Regions from separate parts of the Homo sapiens genome. Here regions 1, 2, 3, 4 and 5 are each linked to region 6. Evidence: promoter capture Hi-C in 16 types of primary human blood cells and fetal thymus (Javierre and others, 2016). All regions are on one chromosome and are shown on one strand. Each heading gives the region's core, a stretch centred on a gene start or on the middle of the fragment in contact. The rest is flanking DNA. Distances are from core to core; before and after follow the strand shown.

Region 1 (4,347 bases), core at 948-3,447, 450 kb before region 6:
GTGTGAGGGGTACCTTTACACAGGTGGCCATTGGGAGAGATGACCCACACAGTGGAGATGCTGGACAACACGTTAGATTCCCAGAGCATTGGCTGGCTGGCGCTGGCTGGCAAGGGTTCTGAGATTTGCTCAAAGGCTAATGGAGTGTGACCCCACTGAGCTCTCGGTCTTTGAAGAGGCGGTTAAGAGTGTGGCCTCATTTTGGCATAAACTTGCCACCTGAGAGAGGTGGCTGGCAGTGTAGCCCTGCCATAGCCTGAGGTCTTAGAATGTCAAAGCCTTGAGTTTATACGTAATTTGAAGCCCAGTAGTTGAGGTCATATACGGGGTCTTATAAGATTTGATGATGTAACATTTTCTCTCAAGGGGAAGGAGAGTTCACTCCAAGTTCTTATCATAGAAAAACATATGACACTCACGTAGCAAACTATGCAAGTATTTGGAATTGTTTCAGAGCCACGTAACACAGTGTATCTGGACCTATCATCTGTTAGAGCCGGAAGGGGAGTGTTGGACTATTCTTGCACTGGAATTTGGCTTTTGACTGGACTTTCAAGGTAAAGAGTAAAAGTGCCCTGACTGTATAGATGAATCTTACCAAGTGTCTTAGTTCAGGCTACTGTAATAAACACCATAGATTAGGTAGCTTATAAACAACAGAATTTATTGCTCACAGTTCTTTAGGCTGGGAAGTCCAAGATCAAGGTGCTGGCAGATCAGGTATGTGGTGAGGGCCTACTTCCTGGTTTGCAGATGGCCGTCTTGTATCCTCTTATGATGGAGAGAGCAGAGGTAGGGAGAGGTGAGGCAAGCTCTCTCATGTCTCTCATAAGGGCACTAATCCCATAATGAGAGCCCCACCCTCATGACCTAATAACTCCCCCAAATCCCCCGAATACCATCCCACTGGAGGTTAGGACGTTGATATGGTTTGGCTGTGTGTCCCCACCCAAATCTCATATTGAATTGTAATCCCCATGTGTTAGAGGAGGGGCTGGGTGGGAGGTGATTGAATCATGGGGGCAGACTTCCCTCTTGCTCTTCTCGTGATAGTGAATGAGTCCTCATGAGATCCAGTTGTTTAAAAGTGTGTAGTGCTTCCCCCTTCTTGTGCTCTCTCTCTTTTGTTCTCACTCTCTCTCTCACTCTCTCTCTCACTCTCTCTCCTGCTGCCATGTGCAGATGTGCTTGCTTCCCCTACACCTTCCACCATGATTGTGAGTTTTCTGAGGCCTCCTGGCCATGCTTCCTGTACAGTCTGCAGAACTGTGGGTCTATTAAACCTCTTTTCTACATAAATCAACCCAATCTCAGGTATGTCTTTATAGCAGTGTGAGAACAGACTAATGTAGACATCAACATGTAAATTTGGGTGGGGGCCATACATGCTGTCCATAACAGTAAGGGTGCCTCCCACATCCTCTGCTAGTCCGTGCCACCTCCGGAGCTGGTATTTGGGCATGGGTTGAATAGGAAGGATTAGGCTTTCTCTATTGGGTGGTGCTAACGTTGCCTATAGACTAATTTGCTAATTTTGAGAACTAACCACTGGGATTTGGCCATAATTCCATGCAGAAGGAATCAAGGAATCGAAGTTGAGATGAGGTAACTCTGCTCAAAAGTGTAAATGCTTTATTGTCACCATTGATTTCTGGCTGGTCTCAGAAATTCCCAAGAGCTGCTTTTAGTGCACATTAGCTACAAGTCAGAATCTCACCAGGGCTGCACCCTCTCAGCCTGTGACTGTAAAAGGATGACTCACCTGTGTTCATGTACTCCAGAGAGCCTAAAGATGTCTTGCAGAGAGGGTGTTGCTCCCTAGACCAGCACGTAGGGCTCGGGAGATGTCGCCTTATGCCTCCTGGATGGGCTTGTATTATGTCTGCCACAGAATCTCCAGAAGCTGGGAGGGGTCCTCATCTGGGAGAAGTCCATAGGGACTGTTGGTGAATACAGCCAAGCCCAGCCCACCCCAACTCTGTGAGGGGAATGGAATGGAAACGCAGGCTCCCATTGTGAAACTCACCTATGTGTCCTGGCCCTGGCATTACCCAAGATAAACTTAGGAGATTCATGTGGGCTTGGCCTCAGTCATGGGAGTGTTTTTGGGAAGGGGCCTTTGTCTTATCATCTTGGCACATCTGAGCTTATCTAGTAAAGAATTCCACAGTTACTTCTTCAGGACCTGCTAAGGGCCAGGCTCTGAACAAGCCACAGACCCCACCCTCAAGAGGTATATAGCCTAGAGGGCTGGCCCCATGCCTGCAGCTGAGCGGCTGAGCACACTGTGAAAGCGTCCGTGGCTGCACTCCTGCGACGTGGAGGTACCTTTGCCAAATGTGACTGTGGACAGAGATGAGAGATCCGTAAGCAGCAGGCCTTATGTCCTTCCTGCTGCCTATTCTGACTCTGGGGGCCTGGTTCCCTCTCCCTGCCTCCACATCATTTTCCGCCTCTTAGAAGGTCTTAGCCAGACTCTCTGCTCGACTTTCAATTTCATTTCACATCAGACGTAGTCTCCTGGGTCACTAGCAGCTCCAAGCTCTGCAGCCAAGGGACTGTCTACCCGGGAGCTTTGCAGCCAAGGGACCGCCTACCCACTTCCATGTCCCCAAACTAACTGATGACTCTCTGTCTCCAGCTTTCCTGAGCACCTGCTGTATGCTAGACATTGGACTAATTTTAAAAGCCGAACTCCTTAGCCTGACACTGGGGGCAGCTACTCCCTCCCTGCACCCACCTCTCCTCTCACCAGCTCCCCTTGTACTTTTGTTTCAGCTGCACTGAACCCCTGGCTGTTGCCCACACAGGTGTCTTCCACACTTGGGGCCCTTGAGGATGCTCTCCCTCTGTCTAGGATGCTCTCTCTCTGACTAGGATGCTCTCTCTCTAGCCCATTTTTCTTTCTTTCTTTCTTTCTTTTTTTTTTTTTTTTTTTTCCTGAGGCAGAGTCTCACTTTGTTGCCCAGGCTGGACTGCAGTGGTGCAATTTTGGCTCACTGCAACCTCTGCCTCCCAGGTTCAAGCAATTCTCCTGCCTCAGCCTCCCAAGTAGCTGGGATTATAGGCACCCGCCACCATGCCTGGTTAATTTTTGTATTTTTAGTAGAGACGGGGTTTCACCATGCTGACCAGGCTGGTCTCAAACTCCTCACTTGTGACCCACCCGCCTCGGCCTCTCAAAGTGCTGGGATTACAGACATGAGCCACTGCACCTGGCCTCCAGCCCACTTTTCTATATGCCCTGCTCATTCTTCGAGGCACAGGTGAGATGCTGCCAGTTCCATAAAGCCTCTCTGAGGGCCGCCTGCACCCAGCTGTGGCCCTCACTCCTCAGGCTTGGAGGACAGACGCTTCCCATGAATGCGTGTCTCCCTCTGCAAGGCTATGACCTTATTAGTCAAGGACCAGGCCCTTGACTAGTAAAATATTGCCCAGCCTCTCCCCTCCTAGTCTCACAAATCCAGTCTAGGTAGGGCCTGGCACGGAAACCATTCCTCCAGCCAGTGTCCAGCTCTCTAATTACATCTTGTAGTTTTAAGGCTTGGTTATTATTTTCAAATGATGGCATGAAGCGGAGGGAACTGAAGTCCCTAGCAGGAATAAAACCAAATCACTTAAATTTCCTGGGAAGATAACTTGCTTCTCTTATTGCCATTGTGGAGATAGACTAAAATGTTGGCAAAGTTTCTGTCATTGAGGTTGACTTCTGGCTCCATCACTTACTGGCCAAATGACTTTGCGAAACATACTTAAACCTCTTAAAGCCTCTGTTTCCTCATCTGTGAAATGGGGAGACACCCAGCATATGGGCTATAAAACGAGAACCTCCCCTTCCATGGCATATTTGAGATCTGGGACTCACATGTTGCTATGCAGGCAGAAAGGGTGTGTCTGATAAAGCCTGCCTGCCAGTTCTGACCTGCAAGGGTTTATGACCCCTCTCTTCCTCCTGTTTGAGAATCACTGGCCTTCAGGACCTACTTAAGGGTACTCAGTAAGTAGCTGAGAATACAATGATGTCATGTACACATGACATAATACTAAGCACAGAGCAGCTCCATCAGAGCCCTCTCCCTTTCTCCGTGTCCGATACAAGCCATAACTTTCCTTGGTGCTGTGAAGCCAAAGCAGGCAGTATTTACAGAGCACGGAGAGGTTAAATGTAGAGTGCGCAGCAGCACCACCTCTGAAGCCAGAAGGAATTTGTCCTGGCCTAGAAAGGGAGTGTGCTGTGCAGGAAGGAATCACCTTCTGCCTTGGATGAAGCTGCCACTAGCCCCTTTCTCTTCACGGTCTTTGAGGTTACAGGCAGGTGCACACCCTTACCCCACCCTTTACCCATGT
Region 2 (4,341 bases), core at 1,250-3,749, 340 kb before region 6:
CGGAGCCCTGCCCTTCTCCCTCAGGGCACCCCAGGGCAGTACCGCCCTCTGGCCCAGCTGATGGGCCGGGCCAGGCTCCCCTGGCTTCCCAAGTGGAGGAGGAGGAAATGGTCTTTGCCAGCAGGCCAGCCACCCTCGAGGAGAAGTGGGGTCTTCTTTGGGGCTGTGGAGGCAGTGCTAGGAGTGGACGGAAGGGCTCAGAGGCCAAGCTCAGATGTTCCCTATGGCTGAGGTCCCTGACAAGGATCCTCAAACAGGGAGAATGCTGGTACCCTTCCAGTTTGGGCCTGGGTGTCACTTACCTGGGACACTTGTCACATCCCCTTTAAATCTCTGTCCTTGCCTGGCTCTGGCCAGAAACATTCCAGGGCTTGTTGATTCTGAAGAGCAGTAGGGTTTCCAGGGTTCTCTCCTGAAGCTCGGGGATATCCAGTGGCTTCAGGGTAAAAGCCTGTTTGCTAACCTGCTGCACAGCTGGTAAAAAGCCATGGGTCTCTCCCTTAAACCCAACCCAGCAGATGAGGTCTACTCTGGAGGCCCGAAAACACCTTAAACTCATCGCACAGAAAACCGGCGCAATACTTGGCCCCTCTTCCTTTTTCCCGACCTACAGTACCCCATCCTTCAACCCAGAGTACCCCATCCTTCGACCCACAGTATCCCATCTTTCCTTCTGCTGGATGTTGGAGGACTCAAAGTTATTCTAAATCTCTACAATACTCTTAACATTTTAAATCCAAATCCAGGCAATAATTCAATGTTCCAGCGATGTCCTTTGTGACCCATTCATTTCAGTTGATTTGGTTCTATTGATCCTTTTTTTTTTTGAGACAGAGTTTCGCTCTTGTTACCCAGGCTGGAGTACAATGGTGCGATCTCAGCTCACCACAGCCTCTGCCCCCGGCGTGAAGCGATACTCCTGCCTCACCTTCCCAAGTAGCTGGGATTACAGGCACGTGCCACCACGCCCAGCTAATTTTGTATTTTTAGTAGAGACGGGGTTTCTCCGTGTTGGTCAGGCTGGTCTCGAACTCCTGACCTCCTGTGATCTGCCCACCTCGGCCTCCCAAAGTGCTGGGATTACAGGCATGAGCCACCGCGCCCGGCCGATCCCTTTTTTTCATTTGTTCATTCATTCATTCATTCATTCATTCATTCATTCCAGACACATTACAGCCACAGAGGTGAGGAGGATTCAGGTCCTGCCCGCAGAGACAGTTGCACATACAGCCAGCCACACAAGGGGCAAGAAGTAGTCTGTGCTGGGCCACAGGGGCAGCTCTCAGGAGGCTCTGTATTGACTTCACGCCCACGCTGTGCTACATTCATCACAAATCTGACAGTATGCAACAAAAAGCAGGCCACAAAATAATGGATGGTATTAACAGCAGAGTCAAGATGTGGGAAAATGGAATAAAATGAGCTCTCCAGGTACCATCTATTTTTTAGAAAATGGAATCCATTCATTCAGGAAGCTTGATGGATAAATGAAGTAGGCCAGACAGGGAGAATACAAATAGCAGCAGCTCCTGTGGGAAGCCTGCCAGCCCCTCGCTGAGTGCATGATCTACACCATCACATCATCCACTGAACAGCCTGTGAAGTTGGTACTCTGATGATTCCCATTTTACAGATGGAGAAACCATGACACAGGAATGATGTGGCTGGCTTACAGTCACAGAGCTAGAGCCAGAACTCAAACCCGGGTCTGTCTCACTCCGAAGTTTCTGCTAATGACAGCATGGAAAAGATTCCTCATTTCCACCAGCTTCCTTTTAATCAAGGCAGATTAGACATTCATGCATTGGCTAATCTAGGCTTTGAGTGTAGTGACGTTTATGTAGTGCCTACAAAGCAAGATTAGCCATTACACGTTTTGTCGTTCTGGAAACTGACTCTTGGCAATTCCCAGCCAGGCTTTATCTCAACATACTTCCTGAAATCTCAGGCCATGTGTATTTTGCCTACAGAGTGGCTCTGAAAATAAAGTAGGCTGGAAGTCAGGTGACTGATGTCATCCTGGACTCGTAGGCGATTAACAGTATGACCTTGGAGAAGTCACCTTCCTCTGGTTTCAGTTTCCCATTTGAAAATGCAAGAATTGCAGCCATTCTACCACTAGGACTAGAAGAGACGTACCTGGGCATTAAGAGGCATGCTCAGTGGGAACAGAGGTGGGTGGATTGCCTGAGGTTAGGAGTTCGAGACCAGCCTGGCCATCATGGTGAAACCCCGTCTCTAGTAAAAATACAAAAATTAGCTGGGCATGGTGGCGTGCACCTGTAATCCCAGCTACTCAGGAGGCTGAGGCAGGAGAATCGCTTGAACCTGGAAGGTGGAGGTTGCAGTGAGCCGAGATCGCACCACTGCACTCCAGCCTGGGTGATAGAGCAAGACTCCATCTCAAAAACAAAACAAACAAACAAAACAAAACAAAAAAACTCACAGAAGCATGCCCAAGGATGCTCATGGCAGTGCCGCCTGTGAGCATGAGAAACGGGAGGCCACCTGTGAGAATGGAGAATAACCCTGGTGACCATATGTGGCAGCAGGTCTCCAAGTCAATCCCTGTGATCTCCACCTCCTGGCATCCCCCCAGTGTAGTCCTCTTCCACACTGAACCAGGGAAGATCTGCTTGACCAACAGCATATGGCAGAATTGTTACCAGTGGAAGGTTGGAAGGTATCTGAGTTACCAGCGGTGAATCCGTGTGGGTCTGCAGCAACCTCAATTCTTGCCTCCTCAGAAGAAAGAATTTGACTGACGGGCCTAAGGCTGAAAAAGAGAGGAAGGCAAGAGGAGGAGTGGAAGGTTTTTATAAAGCCTTTAGACCAGGAAAGAAAGTACACTGGGAAAAGACCCCAAGCGGGCGACGTCAGAACAAGTGCAGCGTTTAACCTTGATCCGAGGACTTTCTGGGCTGGCCCCTTTCTCGTGATTCTCACCTTAGGGTGAGCTGCCTGCATGTGCAGTGCCCTCCTTACCCTTACACAGTGTGTATAGGAAGTTGTACACATACCCACCTGAGGCTTTCTTCCCTTTTCTTGTGGGGTGCTCCCAGAGGGTCATACTCTGCCATTTTGTCTCTTAATGCACCATGCCTGGGAAGTTGTGTCTCCCTGGCACCTGCATTCAATGAACACTTTAGTGCAGCAGGTGTGGTCCATGAGGAAATGGCCTCTCCCTGGCACTGGCTGCCAATTTATCACTTTTAGAGAGGCAGTGTGATCATTGCCAAACCATCACCCAACATTCCCCCAGAGCCCTCTCCTGCCCTGCTCATGCCTGTCTCACTACCTGTAACAGAAGGAATGGCATGGCACTCCCGGGCTTAGTAAAACCTAAGCCGCTTCCATCTTGGGTTTTCTCTCTCCTTGCTCTTGAATCCCTTGCCCTGGGGAAGCTGCCTAGTTGTGAGCAGCCCTGTAGAGAGGCCCACGTGGAAAGGAATTGAGTCCTTTAGCCAACAGCCATGGGCGTTAGCCATCTTATCTGTGGATCCTTTAACCCCAATCAAGCTTTCAGATGACCACAGCCCTGCCAGCTCAGCTGCAACCCCACGACAGGCCCTGATCCAGAACCACCATGAGGGGCTGTTTCAGGGCTCCTGATCTCAGAATCTGTGTGAAATAATAAATTGTTTTTGTTTTAAAGCTGCTAAATTTGGGGGGTAATTTGTTATCCAGCAATGGATAACAAATACACCCCATACTATAGGATATTATGGAGCAAAGAGTGGAACAGGTCTATGTGTACTGATACAGAAAGATTTCTGAGATATGTGTTAAGACACCCTTAGAATGTGTTGTTAGAAAATAATAATTACAAAAAAAGATATACGGCTATATATCTTTTATGTAAAATACCACAACTCACTATACTTTTATGCATTTACATATGCAAGTAGATATGTAGCAAATTACCCATCATGTAGCAATGATGAACATCAATTTACCCTCAGTAAGAGAGTCAGAGGAAGGTGCAAAGTGGAATTTTCATTTTCTATTCAATAGATTGCTCTCTCTCTCTCTCTCTCTCTCTATATATATATATAATATATATATAATTTTACCATGATAATGTGTCAATGTATTACTTATACTCAATTTAAAAATTCTTTAAACGAAGGCATTTGAGTACTTGATCACTGAGGTCTCTTTCAACTCTGGTGTTTTATAGTTCTATTAAAATGTCATTGGAATGTAAATTAAAAGAATGGGATAACATTTATCACCTCTTTGTTGGAAAACATTAAAAGTTTGATAAACCAATGTTGGCAAAGATGTGCTGGGATTTAAGGGGAGGGCAGGGCTGGCCTTTGAATCCAGTTATATTGACTC
Region 3 (4,107 bases), core at 740-3,239, 310 kb before region 6:
GACCTCATGATCTGCCCGCCTCGGCCTCCCAAAGTGCTGGGATTACAGGCGTGAGCCATCGCGCCTGGCCCAAAAATCTATTATAATTCTATGTAGTCAATATAATACAAATATTAAAACATGGACTGGATCTACATCTAATCTAAAAAAGCTGTTGTCTCTGGAGAGGTTGGGAGGGACTAGGACTGGGGAAGAGAATAAAGAAGATATTATCTAAAGAAGATTTTATCTAATCTGTTTTGTTTTATTCTTTAAAAACATGAGATTGATGTAAATAAAATAGGATCTTTCCTAATTTTAGGGAACAGCTACATGGCTTTTATTGTATTACTCTTTGGGCTTTTCTATATTCTTTAAGTGATTTTTTAAATAAGTAATGTATGTTCATTGTAGAAAATTAGAAAATGCAAAAAAGTATAAGGATAGAAATGAAAAGCATCCACAAATACACTGTAAACATTTTGCTATTCTTTCCAGTTTTTACTTACAAAAACCAGATAGGGATCATACATACAGTTTACATTTTTACAACCTGCTTTTGTGGCTTGCTATGATATTGTAAATAGTCTTCCATCCATTAAATTGTTTTGAGGAATATCCTTTTAATTCACTATATAATGCCTCTTACGGTGGTACTTTTATTTAACCAATGCCCTATTGGTCTTTCAGCTTTGTTACTGTTATAAATAACGGGGGTATGAATACCTTAGCATAAGAGCTTCGATGAGGCGACTTCCTTCTGTGCTTGGATGTAGCAGTGTCCTTGAGTTTTGGGTCACAAGGCATGTGATCTTGTCTGTCCCACTGGGCCTGGGATGGGGTGGCTTGGGGGTGTGAATGAAATAGGTCTGTGTGTCCAGTTAAGTTCCCGGAAGCCAAGAAGGCCTGGGCAATGGAGCTCATAGAGTGAGCTTGCAAGCTGTCCCCCGTCCTCCCTTCATTTATTCAGGCCAGGCAGGTTTTCAGGACGTTGGGCGACCCTGGGGCAGAGACATAGGGCAGTCAGAGATGACGGGGCCTGGTCTAGATGGGAGAGGCAGGAACAACCACCAATCTCACAGGTTAGGGAGGGAAACCCAGAGAGCTGCAGGCGTTCCGAGGAGGGCGTGATCAGCTCCATGCGTGATGGCAGCTGGGAAGAGTTTGGAGAGGAGGTTATATAAGAATGGGTGTTTTGTTTTTGTTGTTGTTGTTTTGTTTTTATGACTAGCTTTATTGAGGTCTATTTTACAGATCATGAAATTCAATCATTTTAAGTGTAAAATTCAATGACTTTTAGTAACTTACTGAGTGGCACAACCATCACCAGAAACCAGTTTTAGAGCATTTTCACCCCCAGTAAGATCCCTCACACCCATTTACAGTTAATCCCCATCCCTACACCCACCCCTCGACACCCTCATCTACTTTGTGTCTCTACACATTTTCAGGTTTAGGTTACATTTTGAAGGATGGAAACTGGACTTTCAATTAAGTCAGTAGCAAGGGAAGCACAAAACCAGGGGATACGGTGGTGCTGCTTTCCAGCAGAAAAGCAGTTCAAAGCCCGGACTGCGCCTTCTGGAGCGAAATTCAAATGTGGAAGCTTCGAATAGTCAAGAGCTCTGCACCCCCCGGAAGTACGTGTTCTACCTTTGGTCAAGTAAAGCACTTCTTTCCTTTCACCTCTTGGGCGCCTGGATTCCTTTCTTCCTGCGTTTCCTAAGCTCACTCAAGTGGAGGCAGAGCTGTCGTTGGCTTTGAAAATACATTTGGCTGTGGGTTCTCTGGCCTGGCACTCGTGGGAAAGCTGGGCTGGGGAGTCTCAGCAGGATCAGGGCATGAGGGCCTGGAGGCCTGGCAGAGACTGTAGAGGACGCGGTGGCAGAGTGATCTCAGTGAGAGTCTTCGCTCCCTTCGTGTCATCTGACCTGGTCCTGCTGTGAAGTCCTCAGGACCTCTGCCCACCTTAGAACCAAGCATTTTTTCACCCTGAAAAGGGGTTGAGCAGACCATCTGTGTTCAGTCTGTCTGCCTTTACATAATCAGGTGCCTTTCAGATGCCTTGTACCAGATTCTTCAAAAATTACATTACAAAGTTTCCAGAAATAATGCAAGCTCAATGCAGAAAAACAGCACAATAAATAACAATTCAAAGTCAACCCTAAGATCTCATCCGAAGGTCACTGCTGCTGCCTTTGTGGGTCTATACTTCCTTTTATTTATGTATTAATTTCCGTGGCATCTTGTTGGCTCCCATGAAATCCCCAGGGCAGTGGGAGAAGGTGCCTTCGATCATCAGGGCACAAGCCTGGCTCTCACTGGCCTGGAAGGCCCGCAGCCTGGGGCTCTCACACTGCCTTGGAGATGGGCTGCTCTGGTACTTTGAACCCGCTGTTTAATGTTAAGCTTGGTTTTTCCCTTTGATGTGAGTCAAGTGCTCAGCTCTGGGGAGACAGTCCCTCCGCCTGGGGCATTATCTGCTATGTAAAGGAAAAGAGTCAACCTGAAGCTATCAGCAGCTCTAAATTCTCTAAAGACGATCTGGGCAGCAGGTTGCAACACATCTCGGGATCATTCCATCTTTGTAGAAGCCATTCCCATTAATCATTTATTAATTACTCTCCCAATTGAGACAATGAAGTAGATGTAGGATTAAAAAAGAGGCCCATATTCATTTCCCATCTGAGCACCCTGAAGTTCATGGATCCTGGAAGAATGTGAAAAATGGACTCCATTCTTCTTCTTTCTACTTTGCATTTTTCTCTGGGTTTGGCTTCAGCCACAAAGGGAGCCCTAGGAAGGCAGGGGGTTGGGGGGGAGGTTGTGCACTGGTGTGTGCAAGAGTGTACACATGTGTGTGACACCCAGTGGTCCAGGCTCAGAGGGGAAGGACACGGACCCTGTGAAGTCTGAGGAAGGCTTTGGGGCAGGAGCTGGGGCAGGGCAGGGGCTGCCTGCAAAAGGGGGAACCCAGAGAGCCGAGCCTGTGTGCTAGGGCTGAGGGTTAGAGAAGGGAAATAGGGCAGCAGCTCCTTGGGCTTGTCCCAGAGGGCTGGACGGGTCCTGACTCTGAGCTGGAGAGCAAGGGACAGTGGGATGGAAAGGATGTCACGGGGCATCTCCTGACCCCAGGGAACTGTCCTGGGTCCTGTAGGTGTATGCTCCCATTTAATCCTCCCCCATACTCTGGGAGTCAGGTATCAACCACCACATTTTGGACTTAAATTAGGGCTCAAAGAGGTGGAGTGACTTGCTCAAAGTCACACGGTGGATGAGTGCGGGGTTGGGATTGGAGTCCAGGTGTTCAGACCTCAGCGTCTTGGCATTTTCCCTGATCCATGCTGCCATTAACGCAAGCAGCCCAGCCTGGCAAACTCCAAAAGTCTGTCTTGGAAGTAAAAAAGCCAAATAATGTTGATTTTCTGCTGTTTTGGGAATCAAGAAAGACTTCTCCCTTTTTTAAGGGATAAAACGTGCCCCCACCCCCACTTTTTTTTTTTTTTTCAGGGAATACAGATGATGACTGAAGAATTTCCAGAGAATCTAGTGGAGGTGGGAAAGTGTCCTTCTCCAGGGAGGGTCCTGAAGATGGGAGCAGATTCCTGCTCTCCAGCAGCCCCTCCTCACCCAGGCCTCAGTTTCCAGGGAGAACATGTTCAGCCTTCCTCCGTGAGAGGGGCTGGGAGGCAGCGAGGGTGATGCCCCGAGGGTAAGTGTGGGGCGACGGGGGCAGCTGGGAGGCAGCGAGGGTGAAGCCCCGTGGGTAAGTGTGGGCGGGCGGGGGCAGCTGGACTGAGTCACCGGAACCTGCAGTGAAGAGAGACTGTGGATGCCAGCGCCCGAAGGCAGCGGTGTTCAGAGTGAGGGCTGCAAACCCCTGCAGGTGGAAGAGGTCACCAAGGGGCCTTGAGCCCTGCAGGTTTTGAGGGAATCATGCTCTGATTCTCAGCCTCACAGGCATGACGATCTTTCCTAAACTCATCTCCCTGGGATGCACTTGGGTTGACGGTAATGCTTCCCCTGCCTGGAGAAAGCAAGATACCCATCGTCCTGTGAGAAATAGGGAAACCCCTGGGGTGCTACACAAAAGGGAGACTTTTTTTTTTTTTAGATGGAGTTTTGCTC
Region 4 (4,067 bases), core at 1,084-3,583, 380 kb before region 6:
TTATGTCTAAAGTCGACTGTAAGAAAATGTGAGAGATGTGGACAGAGTCATATACTATATGTTTATCACATTTTTTATAGTAGAAGAAAATTGGAAGCAACTTAAAATGTGAAAAAGAGGGGCCAGGCGCGGTGGCTCACACATGTAATCCCAGCACTTTCAGAGGCTGAGGCCGGCAGATCTCTTGAGCCCAGGAGTTCAAGACCAGCCTGGGCAACATGGCAAGGCCCAGTGTCTACAACTATACAAAAATTAGCTGGGCATGGTGGTGCACGCCCAGCTATTCAGGAGGCTGAGCTGGGAGGATCACTCAAACCCAGGAGGCAGAGGCTGCAGTGAGCTGAGATCACGACACTACACTCCAGCCTGGGGGACCGGGCAAGACTCTGTCTGTCTTTAAAAAAAAAAAAAAAAAAAAAAAAAAAAGAATGGAATAGGTAGATGAATAATATGCTTCATCCATATAACAGAATACTTGAGGCATTATTCGAAGAATATGTAATGCCTCAGGAAATACTTAGAATGTGCTATTAAATAAAGAATGCAAAATGTAAGATCATATGTTTAATACGATCCTATTTTTAAAATTACATATATGTGTATGTATATCAGTGTACACACGTGTGTATAGATACATACCTACACACACACGTATGTATAAAAAGAGCATCTATTCTGCTGTATTTCAACTTCTAAAAACATAGGTGTTTCAAACACCACATTAAAAAAACAATTATTTCAACGGGAAAAAAGTGAGTTAAAGGCTAAAGAATTTTAGACTCACAATAATAAAGGTATTTTCCCTGCAATCCTTTCTATAATTAAAATGTGTCTATAGCTATGTGTGTATTTTGTTGTTGCAAGAAAAAAACAATAAGCTGGTTGGTCAAAATGGGCAAAGGCCAAACAACATCCCTCATTTACTTTTAAGTAAACCTCTCAGGAGCTTCCCCTCTGTCACCAGTGGCCTCGACCTTCCAACCCCCCAGTGCACAGCAGACTGTCACTGCACAGGCACCCCAGCCCACCCACAGATCACACCCCAGCCCGCTGACAGATCACACCCCAGCCCGCTGACAGGTCCCACCGCAGCCCACCAACAGATCCCACCCCGGCCCGCGGACAGATCACACCCCAGCCCGACAGATCACACTGCAGCCCACCAACAGATCACACCCTGGCCCATAGACAGATCACACCCCAGCCTGCTGACAGATCACCACATAGGCACCCCAGCCCGCCGACGGATCACCACACAGGCAGCCAGCCCACCGACAGATCACTCCACAGCCTGCCGACAGATCACACCCCGGCCCACCGACAGATGACTTCACAGGCACCCCAGCCCGCCCACAGATCACCGCACAGGCACCCCAGCCCGCCCACAGATCACACCCCAGCCCCCCGACAGATCACCGCACAGGCACCCCAGCCTGCCCACAGATCACACCCCAGCCCGCCGACAGATCACACCCCAGCCTGCGGACAGATCACTGCACAGGCACCCCAGCCCGCCCACAGATCACACCCCGGCCCGCCGACAGATCACTGCACAGGCACCCCAGCCCGCCCACAGATCACACCCCAGCCCACTGACAGATCACACCCCAGCCCGTCAACAGATCACACCCAGCCCACCAACAGATCACTGCACAGGCACCCCAGCCCGCTGACAGATCACACCCCAGACCGCTGACAGGTCACACCACAGACCGCCAACAGATCACACCCCGGCCCACCAACAGATCACTGCACAGGCACCCCAAACTGCCCACAGATCACACCTCAGCCCACCGACAGATCACTGCACAGGCACCCCAGCCCGCCGACAGATCACACCCGAGCCCGACAGATCACACCCCAGCCTGCCGACAGATCACTGCAGAGTCACCCCAGCCCGCCCACAGATCACACCTCAGCCCCCCGACAGATCACTGCACAGGCACCCCAGCCCGCTGACAGATCACACCCCAGACCGCCGACAGATCACACCCCAGACCGCCGACAGATCACACCCCAGACCGCCGACAGCTCACACCCCAGCCCGCAAACAGATCACCGCACAGGCACCCCAGCCCGCTGAGAGATCACACCCCAGGCCGCTGACAGATCACAGAGCGCCGACAGATCACACCCCGGCCCGCCAACAGATCACACCCCGGCCCGCCAACAGATCACACCCTGGCCCGCCGACAGATCACCGCACAGGCACCCCAGCCCGCCCACAGGTCACCGCACAGGCACCCCAGCCCGCCCACAGATCACCGCACAGGCACCCCAGCCCGCCCACAGGTCACACCCCAACCCGCTGACAGATCACTGCACAGGCACCCGAGCCTGCTGACAGTTCAAACCCCATCCCCCCGACAGATCACTCCCCAGCCCGACAGATCACCGCACAGGCACCCCAGCCCGCCGACAGATCACACCCCAGCCCGCCCACAGATCACCGCACAGGCACCCCAGCCCGCCCACAGATCACACCCCAGCCCGCTGACAGAGCAGCCGGGGCTTGCTGTGCCTCGCCATTGCCGTGCTTGACAAGTCGTGGAGTGCCAGCTCCTGACCTGGGTCCTGTTACAGTTGCTGTCATGCAAGCATAGTTCCTTGTGCTGTGCTTAACTTGCTTCATGGAAACCCACTCTCGAGAATACGCCTGTACATATGAGGAAAACAGAAATCTGAAAAGATAACATGTCTGGGTGCTAGGATTAAGGTGCTTTTTGTTTTCATCTATATTTCTGTATTTTCCACATCGAGTATTAATTACCTTTATTATAAGATAATAAATGCTGTACATTTTTAACCACATCCCTTCTCCCCAGTTCCAGGTGAGTGTCAGCCTGGCCGTCTTACAGCTCCCGGCTGTCCATGGCCGATGTCACCCCTAAGAACACATAATCTAGGCTGAGTCGGCTCTGGGTCTTCAACTTCCCTGTGGATGCCCCAGTTCTCCAAATAAAAGCGATCTAATAATAGCAGCTCCAGACCCTGCTTTCATTTCTCATATACTGTCATCTTTTGTGTATACACAAAGTCCACCCTACAAATGATGATGGCCTTTGGAAAGCACGCAGGCTTGCTGAAGAGATTTGCTCTTCTGTGTGTGTCAAACCAAACAGACTGCGGCCTCTCCTTCAACAGCATTTCATCAAGTCAAAGTATGATGTGTTGGTTCACAGGCCCAACCTAGAGCACACCAGGAGTTTGTAGGTTAAGGTAGTAAGTGCAGCTGTGTCTTGGCACCTGCTTTGACTAGAGGCCAAACCTCTGCTAATTTTAACACTTCCTGGCTGATCTTAATATGGGAGGCCCACGGGCTGGGCTAAATCTGGAGGTTGGCAGGGAGCAGAAATTTCCAAGCAAGCAGGTGGTATAGTGGAGACAGCCTCACACCCGAGACGGAGGCCTGGCTTTGAGTCCACATCCTGCCCTCACTACCTGGCCATCTTGGACAGGCAAGGCCACCTCTTTCCCCAGTTCTAGACACTGGTAAGAGCTCCTCAAAGGAGTGTGGAAGGAGGAAAAGATGTGTAAGGACTTGGTAAGCTGTGAAATAATACAGATGTAAGGGAATTCTAACCATTATTACTTAGAATATTCTTTTTAAATTATAAATTACAGCCGTTTTGGAGCTCATGAAATGTGTTGGTAGCATCTCCGTAACCCCATGGATGAACAGATGCATGCTTGTAAGCTGTCCAATTTTTGTTGGCTGTGCCACTCCACAAAAACCAGTAGGTCAGGGGCTACCTCAGCTCACAGTGAACCTGTCAGTCAGGTGTCCACAGATAACTTGCTGGGCGTGTCCAGGAGGTGGAGGCAGTGCTGCCTCAGCTCAAAGCTAACCTGTCACGAGTCCTTGGATAAACCTTTTTCCTCTCTGGGCCTGTTTCTTCATCTGCAAAAACAAGGAGCTGAGGGATTGAACCAGATCTCTGGGCAGTATCCCTGCCCCCAGCTGTCTGGGGAAACACATGTTTCAAATGCAGCCACTGGGGTTCACATGTGGGTAAAGAAGAGTCCAGATCAAATGCGAAACTGCCAGACCTCAACTCGTCATTCAC
Region 5 (4,569 bases), core at 65-2,564, 280 kb before region 6:
CATTAGGGGCCATCGTGGAGGCTAGCTGCCACCTGAGAATCATGCGTTCTGCCTATAACACACCCAGTCGATACCAGCATTTGGTCCAGCTGGGCCACGAAACTGGTTACTTCCCGATGCTATAAGGGCCATATTTTGGATTCATACATCAGGACTCTGTACCACCGTAGACAAGACATTCTTTTGCTTCTGTGTGTTTAAACTATTTCTCTGTACAACAGTAAATCATTCTTACCCAGGTTGTGTCTAGGTTGGAGTGCTTTGGTGCCTGCAGGGGTTGCTTTGACAACTAGAATATTTGTTGGGGATCAGTTGAGCCTAGCATCTGTTTGAGCTTCTCATACTAAATACAGTCCAAAGTGGTTGTTATCTCTTTCGATTCTGAGTGTCCCATTGCATGTGGCATTTCTCAGGAAAAGGAACATCATCTTTGGCTAGTCAAGCTTCTTAATAGCAATGGTAGAAAGCAATTATGCTAATTTAAAACAAAAAGAAACTTCCCAATCTTGGATGTTTTACCATATCACTGGGAAAGATGCAGGACTGAGCTTATAAAATGGGCTGGAGCAGAAAGGCTAGCAGCACTCAGGTTTACACCAAACCACAGCTCAGAACCAGGCAGAGAGGATGCCGCTGTCACATCTGCTGGGAAACAGAGCCTCAGCTGGCATGGCTGCCACTCCACTGCCACCAGCACCTGTGACGCTGGGCACTCACACTGCTGCCCCTGCTGCCACCCCTCTGTACAATGTTACCATCACAGGTCCAGCCATCCCTGCAATGTTTTTCCTGGTGACCCTCCTGCCTCCCCTCAGCAGATCCTAGCACACATCTGGGGCAGGTAGGAATCTGACTGGCTGAGTCTAAGCCATGCTCTCGTGTCCTAGCTGCAGGAGACACTGGAAAAAGCACAAATCTGGCCTTCTTGGCATCCATCGTGGAGGAAGGGCTCTGCTTCCTACAAATACTCGTGAGGTAGTAAATTCACAAACACAAGAAGGGTTCCAGATGCTGGGCCATCAAACCAACAACAAGCACAAAACAGACAAATGTCTGCCACAATTAGTTGCTACCTAGAGAACAACATTTTGGCTTGTACCAAAATGTTTCGTTTCTTAAAAAATACCTGGAGAGTGTGTGAGAAGTTGAGCTGGGCTCTCTGATTTGTCAAAAGATCAAAAGAATGTCTAAAAAAAAAAAAGCCCGATAAAAAATAACAACATCAAAGCAAGAAGAAATATTTGCAACTCTATAATAAAATAAAAGGACAAATAGCCCAATTAAAAAACAGGCAAAGGATATAAGTGTTTATTCTTTTTCCAAAGGAAATATACAAAGTGCCATTGAGAACATGGATGATACTCAATGCCATTAACCATCAAGGACATATAAACCAAAACCACAATGGGATACCACTTCATGCCCAATAGGAAGGCTATAATAAAAATGACAGATAACAATAAGAGTTGGTGAGGATATACAGAACCCTCATAAACTATTGGTGGGAATGTAAAATGGGGGACACACTTTGGAAAACAGTCTGGCCATTCTTCAAAAGAGTAAACAGAGAGTAACCATATGACCTAGCAATTCTATTCCCTAGGGATATGACCAAGAGAAATGAAAATATTTGTCATTTTGTACAAAAACTTGTACATAAATGATTAGAGCCACATTATTCATAATAGCCAAAAGGTAGAAATAACCCAAATGCCTATATACTGATGAATGGATAAACAAAATATGGTACATCCATACAATGGAATATTATTTGGCCATCAAAAGGGATAACGTGTTAATACATGCCTCAACACGGATGAACCTTGAAGGAAGTGAAAGAAGCCAGTCACCAAAGGCCACGTATTGTATGATTCCATTTATACGGAATATCCAGAATAAGAAAATCTATAAAGAGACCCAGAGCTTAGTGGTTGCTCAGGGCTGAGGGGATTGGGGGCTGAGGGTGATAGCCAAAATGTATAGGGTTTATTTCTGAGATGATGAAAATGTTCTAAAATTGATGTTGGCAGTGGTTGCACAGACTGAATATACTGAACCATTGGATTGTATACTTTAAGAGGAAATACTTGCTCATTTTAGAAAAGTAGAAACAGAGAAAATTAAAACTACTCAGTGTTAACATTTTGGGGCATGTCCTTTCATTCCTTTTCTAGGCAAAGCTTTTTAATGTTTTTGAGGATGGTACATATTGAATTTTATGCAGCCTTTTTGTTGAAGGTGAATGTTTCCTGTGTTTTTATCACACTTGGCAAGCATTGTTTTCAATGATTGTGTAACATATCTTACCAAATAGATGCACTATAGGCTCCTGAAACGTTTCCACTGTTGGGCATTTAAATTATCTTCATTTTTTTGTTATCATAAATATGTTTTGGTGAACATCTTTGTTATGAGGTTTATTTGAGATTTTAAAGTTATTCCTTGGGATAGATTCAAATGGTGAGATTGTTGGGTTAAAGAGTTTGAATACTTTCAGGACTCTTGTTACTTAGTGTCAGCTTGCTTTGCAAAGGAGATACATTCTTGCAAAGGAGATGCACCTTCTTAGAAGATGTCATTTAAGAGAAAAAATATCCCACGTTCCCCTCCCCCCACAAAACCCCCCTATGGCCTAAACCACACTCTCTTTTCCTCCCATCCCCTGCTTTTTTCTTCTCCCTCCTCATTTCTCTTGGTAGTGGATTTGCGCTGTAATATATACAGTCAATACCGGTGGTTTATTTCATCCAGGCCCCTTAGGTGATTGCTGTCTGATAACATTAGAGACAACATATTGGATTTTTTCAAGGCATAAATGTACAAGGACAAATAGTACAGCAGAAGAGACAACAGCAACAAAATTTGGAAGCACGGGTGTCCTCACCACACCCAAGTCTTTTATATCTCTTTGTAAAGTTTTATGTTTTATTGATTGTTAACTAATTAAAATTAAAATGAACAATTGACGTTAATTTCTACATTTTGGTCTTATTTTCATTGTCCTGTGTGAAAGGAAACTTTCACACATATTCCTGAACTGATCACTAGATATGTGTGCATGAAAGTTATTGCTTTTTATGCTTCTTATGTATTCTATTACTTCATCAAGCTCTTTCATTAATTCCAAGAATTTTCCGATGAGTCTTAGGTTTTATGGGATGATGATTATACCATCTGCAAATTATAACTGTGTCTCCTCTTTCTTTTCTATAGCTACACTTTTTATTTCTGGTTTATATGCTTTGGTCCCACATTTTAGAAGAGTGTTAATTAACAGATATTCTTGCCTGTCCTTGACTTTAATAAGATTGTTTCTAGTAACGGCCATTAGGTGTTATGTTTGAAGTTGGTTTAGAAGAGATATTATCACATAAAGGGAGTATATTTTCCCTTTATTTCAGAAATCGATGTAAATGTTATCAAATGTCTTAACAGTCCTTACTGAGATGTGCATGGAGTTTTTTCTTTGACTTCCTGACACATTCTGCCGAATACATTAAATTAATTGTATCTTGTCAGTATCCATCTTCTGAATTGATGGAGCAGGCATAGTGGCAGAATCACGAGGAGACACGGGCCTTCTGGGCATCCATCCTCAACAGGCAGCATCCTGCAGGCTCTCTCTCCTGGGCTACTTCTGCCTCCTCTTGTAACCCCTACAGATCCCCACAGGATGGGGAGTTCATTCTAATCTCTTGCTACTCAACATGTGGCCCATAGACCAGCAGCTTCAGCACCACTAGAAGCTTATTAGAAATGCAGAATTTCAGACCCGGCCATGGGCCTGCTGAGCCAGAATCTGACATTGAACGAGACCCTCCCCACCACCGAGATTCGTGTGCATGTTAAAGACTTAGGAACATTGTTCTAACATAGTGGAGCAATGGCTTCTCCCCATTTTTCTTCTGCCAACGGGACAGCCCTCTAGTCCTACCCAAAAGCGGTTGAGAGAAGCTCTAGGTGGTTTTCCTGTAAGTGTGTGTATGTATGTAAGAGAGAGAGGAAGAGAGATAGAGATGGACAGACAGACAGACATAGACAGGCAGAGGTAGACAGAGACAGAGAGAGAGCAGATTTGGGATGAGCACACATTGTGTGACCCTTTTCGGGGTCCTTGGGCGATTATGACAAGTGATGAGTACCCATGTGTGAAGCAAGCTCTGTGTCTATGACTTGGGAAAGAGAGTGCCCCCTGAGTTAGCACGAGGAGGAGAGCAGAGAGAGAGGAAGACAAAGAGAGAGCAAGAGTTCTTCCTAGAAACGGTCACCTGGTGATTTGCTTTCACCAGCTGCAGATGGTGATTCCTGAAGTGCCTGGATCATCAGGAAGGGGACGCTGGCTGGTTAACTATCTCCAGACCTGATGCTACCAGCTGCTGGAGACAGGATTTCCTCTCATTTTCTTGGAACACTGATCTGGTTAAGAAACTTAGGCTCATCAAAATCCTGTGTGCTTCTTCTTTGGAAAGTGTCCCAGCCTCTCTGTAGTTGCTTGCTCATTTGTAAAACAGAAACAGACATCTCTGTCTTGAACCCAAGCTTCAAGCGTGGCTTGGGGGACTGTGGACA
Region 6 (4,117 bases), core at 354-2,853:
GTGTGTGCGCCCACCAGCTCCTGCTGCTGGTGACGCGCGTCGTCCCGCCGCTTGAGGCGTTTAAATTCCGCCAGCGCGTTGGCCGACGTCTGGTAGAGCAGCAGGGCCATGGCCTGCGCCTTTTCGGGCTTGGACACCAGCACGGCGTGGCAGCGCAGCATCACGGCCTTGTGCTTCAGCTCGTGCCGGTACACCCAGGCGAAGACCTTGGGCAGCCGCGCGTCGGCCACGCAGTAGGTGACGCGGTGCAGCAGGTAGAGGTGGCCCGGGCGGCGCAGCGCGCGCTCCTCGGCGTGCACCATGCGGATACCCTGCGCACTCACCGTCAGCTTCATCTTGGTGCCCTGACGGCCCGCCTCGCTCTTGCTCCAGATCTTGCCCACAGCAAGGTCGGTGCAGCCGTCGCCGCGCGCCTGGATGGTGGTGGCATTGCCCAGGTAGAGCACGGTGTAAGTTGGGTCCTCGCTAGTGATGTGCAGCTTCTTGCGCTTGGAGCGGAACATGCTGCCCACCCGGCTAAGCGCGCCTTCGGGGCACGCCCGCGCCAGCGAGCTGAGCGCCGAGTAGTGCAGGCTCACAGCGTAGCCCTTGGGCTTGGACGCCTGCCGCGGCGGCGCCTCGGCCAGCAGCTCGAACTTGTGCTTCTTCCACGGCAGCATCTCCGGAGGGCGCCCCGGCGCAGCTGGGCGGCGGCGGCGGCGGAGCGCCGGGTGCGAGGCCCGCTGAGCCACCGGCCCCTGCCAGGCTCGGCCCGGGCAAGATCGAAGAATAAAACTACTGGGAGCGGCCCTGTGGTAGGGAGTTGGGGGGAGGGGAGCAGAGAGAGTGCTTAGGAACCCCGCAGGAGGTGCGGGTAAATTCTCTAAAAAAGAAAATATTCAGCTTCGAGTGTGCAAAAAAGGTTGGTGCGGGGGAGACACGCGCGCACACAGAATTACCCCAGCCTGGGCAAGGGCGAGAGCAAAGAGTCTCAGGCAAGCAACAAAATGCAAGGGAGAAAGAACGAGCGTAGAGTGGAAAATGTCAGGAAAAAAGCTAGAAGCGCGCGTGCAAATAAAGAGAGCCCCAGCAACAGCACCCGGGATGGTGCAAGAATATGCAGGAACTCCTCGGCGAACGTGAGGTGGGTCCCCTAACACACACAACCCTCAGGACTGGGGCCAAAACCCGCGGAAACTCTACAGCGAGTGTGCCTAGGGGCCGGTGCTCCCCACCTCCGAGGGGTGCTGGAGATGGAAAGCCCCCCGTTTGGGCTGGTCTCAAGTCAGCAGCTCGCCCAAAGTGCGGTCGGATGCTGGGTCCGGCTGGCCGCGGCGGGCCCCGCGCAGCAGTCCCGCGGGGACTCACTGCATCTTCGCTCCGCCGGACGCCGGGGACTCGCGCTCGGCCCGCTCAGTGTCCGGGCTGGCCTGGCCGAGACGGCGCTGGGCTCCGAGAACAGGGGACGGGCATGGCCGGGTCCGGGAACCGCCGCTACCTCATTTCTTCCCTCCGAGGCGGTGTCCAGCTCCGCTCCCGGGCTCTCCACGGTCTGCTGCCCGCCTTTGCAGTGCGCCCTCTCCGGTGCTGCGAGCGGCGTCCGGCTCGCCTGCCTCACATCCTTGCCGTCCGGGAGGAAGATCTCGGGTAAATATAGGCCGGCGCGAACCATTCGCCGCGCGGGGACAGGGGAGGAGCAGAGAAGAGGATCTGTTTTGGGCTCCGACTCCGGGCGGATTCCTGGTTTCTTAAAGGGACCGCGTGACAGCCATTGGTCGAGGGAGCGGGGAGACCGGTCCAATCCTCCAATTACATCCCAAATTTACCAGCATCTCTTTTGTCTATGGAAATCACTGGGACCTGGGGTTACCCCGCAGCAAAAAGATTTGAATCCTGACACTCCACCCCCCAGGCTGAATTGCCACTCACTGAATACATGTATGTCTAGATCGAAACTTCTGAGGGAGGTGGCAGAAGATGAGATTACAGATTATAATTTCCTGTACAAAAAGTTTGGGAAAATAGTGGTTTCTTCCTTGTGTGACGGCTTTCTGAGAATGACTGGGTGCTGTTTAATATTATTTTCAGAATTGTATTCCATTAAAGAAAAGAGAGAGGCACAGAAAACACCAAGGCTTATCTCTCACTATCTTGAGCTCGTATTCACAGGTAAGCAGCAGACAGTGTAAAGTGAGGTGAGTGGTAACATGATTGGGGTGACTACTGTAGAATACCGTCAATGAATAAGGCTTTTCCCCGTCCGAACCCCGGCAAGACCCCCTCCTGCTGTCAGGCCTCAGGGTAGAGCAGTTTTCTGAGATACACACAATTTCTAATGCTCGTGTGTCGTTAGGACTTAGTTTACTTTGGCAAGCCGGTCATGCGGTTTCATTCTATCATTGACATATTTTGGATGAGAATTCCTAGTAAAAATTCAAATGACGTTTTTTATTTAAGTGACAAATAATGCCAGGCCACCCTCCAATGGGAGTGATAATTGCATCAGTATTGCTTTTATCATGTGCCAACTGGACAGTGTAGTTGTCTTCTGACCGGCTTGACCCTTAGCCAGTAACTCATTTCTGGGCCCTTGAAACAGCCTGCTTGCCTCTATGGTATGGTCAGTCAAAGCAAAAAGACGTATGGCTGGAGTGGGATCAATGTCCGAATGATCCTGCATCAAACTCCCAGCCTGGTCCTGGAGGAGGACAGTGATCCCTTCCCACCATCCCAGTCCCCTGGGGATCTTTGATGTCTCTGGCTTCCACGCCAGGTCTTCATGCCAGAGTCACTGCAACCATACCTGGAAATTCCCTTGGGATATTCCAACAAAATAAAACTGACCCCTGCCCACCCTCTACCTTTGCCAACTTTTAACCTTCCTTTGAAATCTAACTCAATTTTCTCAGAGTCGTTGATGCTGAGTTTCCATTTAAGTTACTTTGCTGAGTTTCCATTTAAGTTACTTTTCTGACTACCTTTTGGTGCCCGGCCCTGAGCTAGGAGCAGACGGGATTCCTGCCTCCTAGTCCAATGAAGGTTGTAAACTCTACCCAACTCTGGGTTTCCACTGGACTGTGGGTTCTCTGCAAGTACCCTGTATCCCCAATATGGTACAAATAGGCACTCAGTAACTAGAATTAATGAGCAAGATATGCATGTGGACAAGAAGACAGAGTGGGCTAAATGCTATGAGAAAGACTCAAAGCACTATGAGAAGCTGGAGGAAGAAAGCATTCATTGTGACTAGGAAAATCAGAAAAGGCTTCATGGAGGTGGTGACCTTTGAAAGATAAACAGAATTTATCCAAATAGGAAAAGACTGAAGGGCTTTATGGGTATAGAGGGTAGCAAAATTACAGAAGCATGAAAATGCATGCATAAGGCCAGGCGCGGTGGCTCACGCCTGTAATCCCAGCATTTTGGGAGGCTGAGGCGGGTGGATCACTTGAGGTCAGGAGTTCAAGACCAGCCTGGCCAACATGGCAAAACTCTATCTCTACTAAAAATACAAAAATTAGCTGGGCATGGTGGTGCACGCCTGTAATTCCAGCTACTTGGGAAGTTGAGGCAGGAGAATCCCTTGAACCCGGGAGGCGGAGGTTGCAGTAAGCCGAGATCGCGCCACTGCACTCCAGCCTGGATGACACAGTGAGACCGTCTCAAAAAAAAAGAAAGAAAGAAAGAAAGAAAATGCATACACATGTAGTAATTAAGATGGAGCTTGTAACAATCAAAGAATAAACCTTCCTGATTGTGTTTTTTGGCTCTCTTACACTCCAAGGGAAGGAATGGCCTCTTCATGGCTAACTGGCCCCACAGGGTCCTTCAACCAGAGCTATAATGCCTTACTCCTCAGCTGCACTGATGGGTTAATGGAGGGATACCAGACATGCTGTTGGAATGAGGTAGTTAGTACTATAATAAGCCATTTAAGGCAACATTAATTCCTTAAATTTCTAGGCTATCTTGTAGTGGCAATGAAGGAGATAGCACACGCTCTAAAGAACAAAAACTCTGGTAAAAACATATCAAATGAGGCTGTGTTCAGTGACCTTTAGTAGGTCCATAATCTTGAACTCCACAAAAGCAGACATCATGTTTAAGCAGTGATCATTTCCAAATCGCTCAAAGTTCC

What was found. The method cuts DNA at HindIII sites, captures the fragments that hold promoters and counts their contacts. A CHiCAGO score of 5 or more calls a contact.
Region 1: a contact is called between a fragment that was not itself captured here and the fragment with the promoter of FAM43A in region 6, in 7 of 17 cell types (naive B cells, total B cells, neutrophils and 4 more). The highest score is 10.4, in naive B cells.
Region 2: a fragment that was not itself captured here is called in contact with the fragment with the promoter of FAM43A in region 6 in 4 of 17 cell types (endothelial precursors, monocytes, naive B cells and 1 more); the score reaches 13.2 in endothelial precursors.
Region 3: a fragment that was not itself captured here is called in contact with the fragment with the promoter of FAM43A in region 6 in 5 of 17 cell types (naive B cells, endothelial precursors, M2 macrophages and 2 more); the score reaches 7.1 in naive B cells.
Region 4: a contact is called between a fragment that was not itself captured here and the fragment with the promoter of FAM43A in region 6, in 2 of 17 cell types (total B cells and naive B cells). The highest score is 7.5, in total B cells.
Region 5: a contact is called between a fragment that was not itself captured here and the fragment with the promoter of FAM43A in region 6, in 7 of 17 cell types (monocytes, endothelial precursors, M0 macrophages and 4 more). The highest score is 7.5, in monocytes.

Annotation. Positions count from the first base shown.
Region 1 is chr3:195,137,450-195,141,796 of GRCh38, reverse strand. The region is part of intron 3 of XXYLT1 (xyloside xylosyltransferase 1); the gene reads left to right. Among named protein-coding and RNA genes, the nearest start is that of MIR3137, 5.0 kb to the right of the region's middle. RefSeq lists enhancers at 1,754-2,253, 2,254-2,755. The HindIII fragment of the contact is 5,122 bases long and covers 1-4,347 here.
Region 2 is chr3:195,026,611-195,030,951 of GRCh38, reverse strand. No RefSeq gene overlaps it. Among named protein-coding and RNA genes, the nearest start is that of XXYLT1-AS1, 66 kb to the left of the region's middle. RefSeq lists an enhancer at 1-556. The HindIII fragment of the contact is 2,044 bases long and covers 1,478-3,521 here.
Region 3 is chr3:194,993,772-194,997,878 of GRCh38, reverse strand. LOC105374294 (a long non-coding RNA gene) reads left to right here. Exons shown (of 4, transcript XR_924873.2): 2 at 1,431-1,619; 3 at 3,490-3,691. Among named protein-coding and RNA genes, the nearest start is that of XXYLT1-AS1, 99 kb to the left of the region's middle. The HindIII fragment of the contact is 803 bases long and covers 1,588-2,390 here.
Region 4 is chr3:195,063,730-195,067,796 of GRCh38, reverse strand. No RefSeq gene overlaps it. Among named protein-coding and RNA genes, the nearest start is that of XXYLT1-AS1, 29 kb to the left of the region's middle. The HindIII fragment of the contact is 7,527 bases long and covers 1-4,067 here.
Region 5 is chr3:194,967,453-194,972,021 of GRCh38, reverse strand. No RefSeq gene overlaps it. Among named protein-coding and RNA genes, the nearest start is that of XXYLT1-AS1, 120 kb to the left of the region's middle. The HindIII fragment of the contact is 1,737 bases long and covers 446-2,182 here.
Region 6 is chr3:194,683,369-194,687,485 of GRCh38, reverse strand. FAM43A (family with sequence similarity 43 member A) reads right to left here and starts at 1,603. Exons shown (of 1, transcript NM_153690.5): 1 at 1-1,603. The coding sequence starts at 659. LOC124909474 reads left to right here and starts at 577. Exons shown (of 3, transcript XM_047449428.1): 1 at 577-1,626; 2 at 2,068-2,148. The coding sequence starts at 1,233. RefSeq lists enhancers at 1-256, 257-762, 1,514-1,873 and a silencer at 584-773. The HindIII fragment of the contact is 4,459 bases long and covers 1-4,117 here.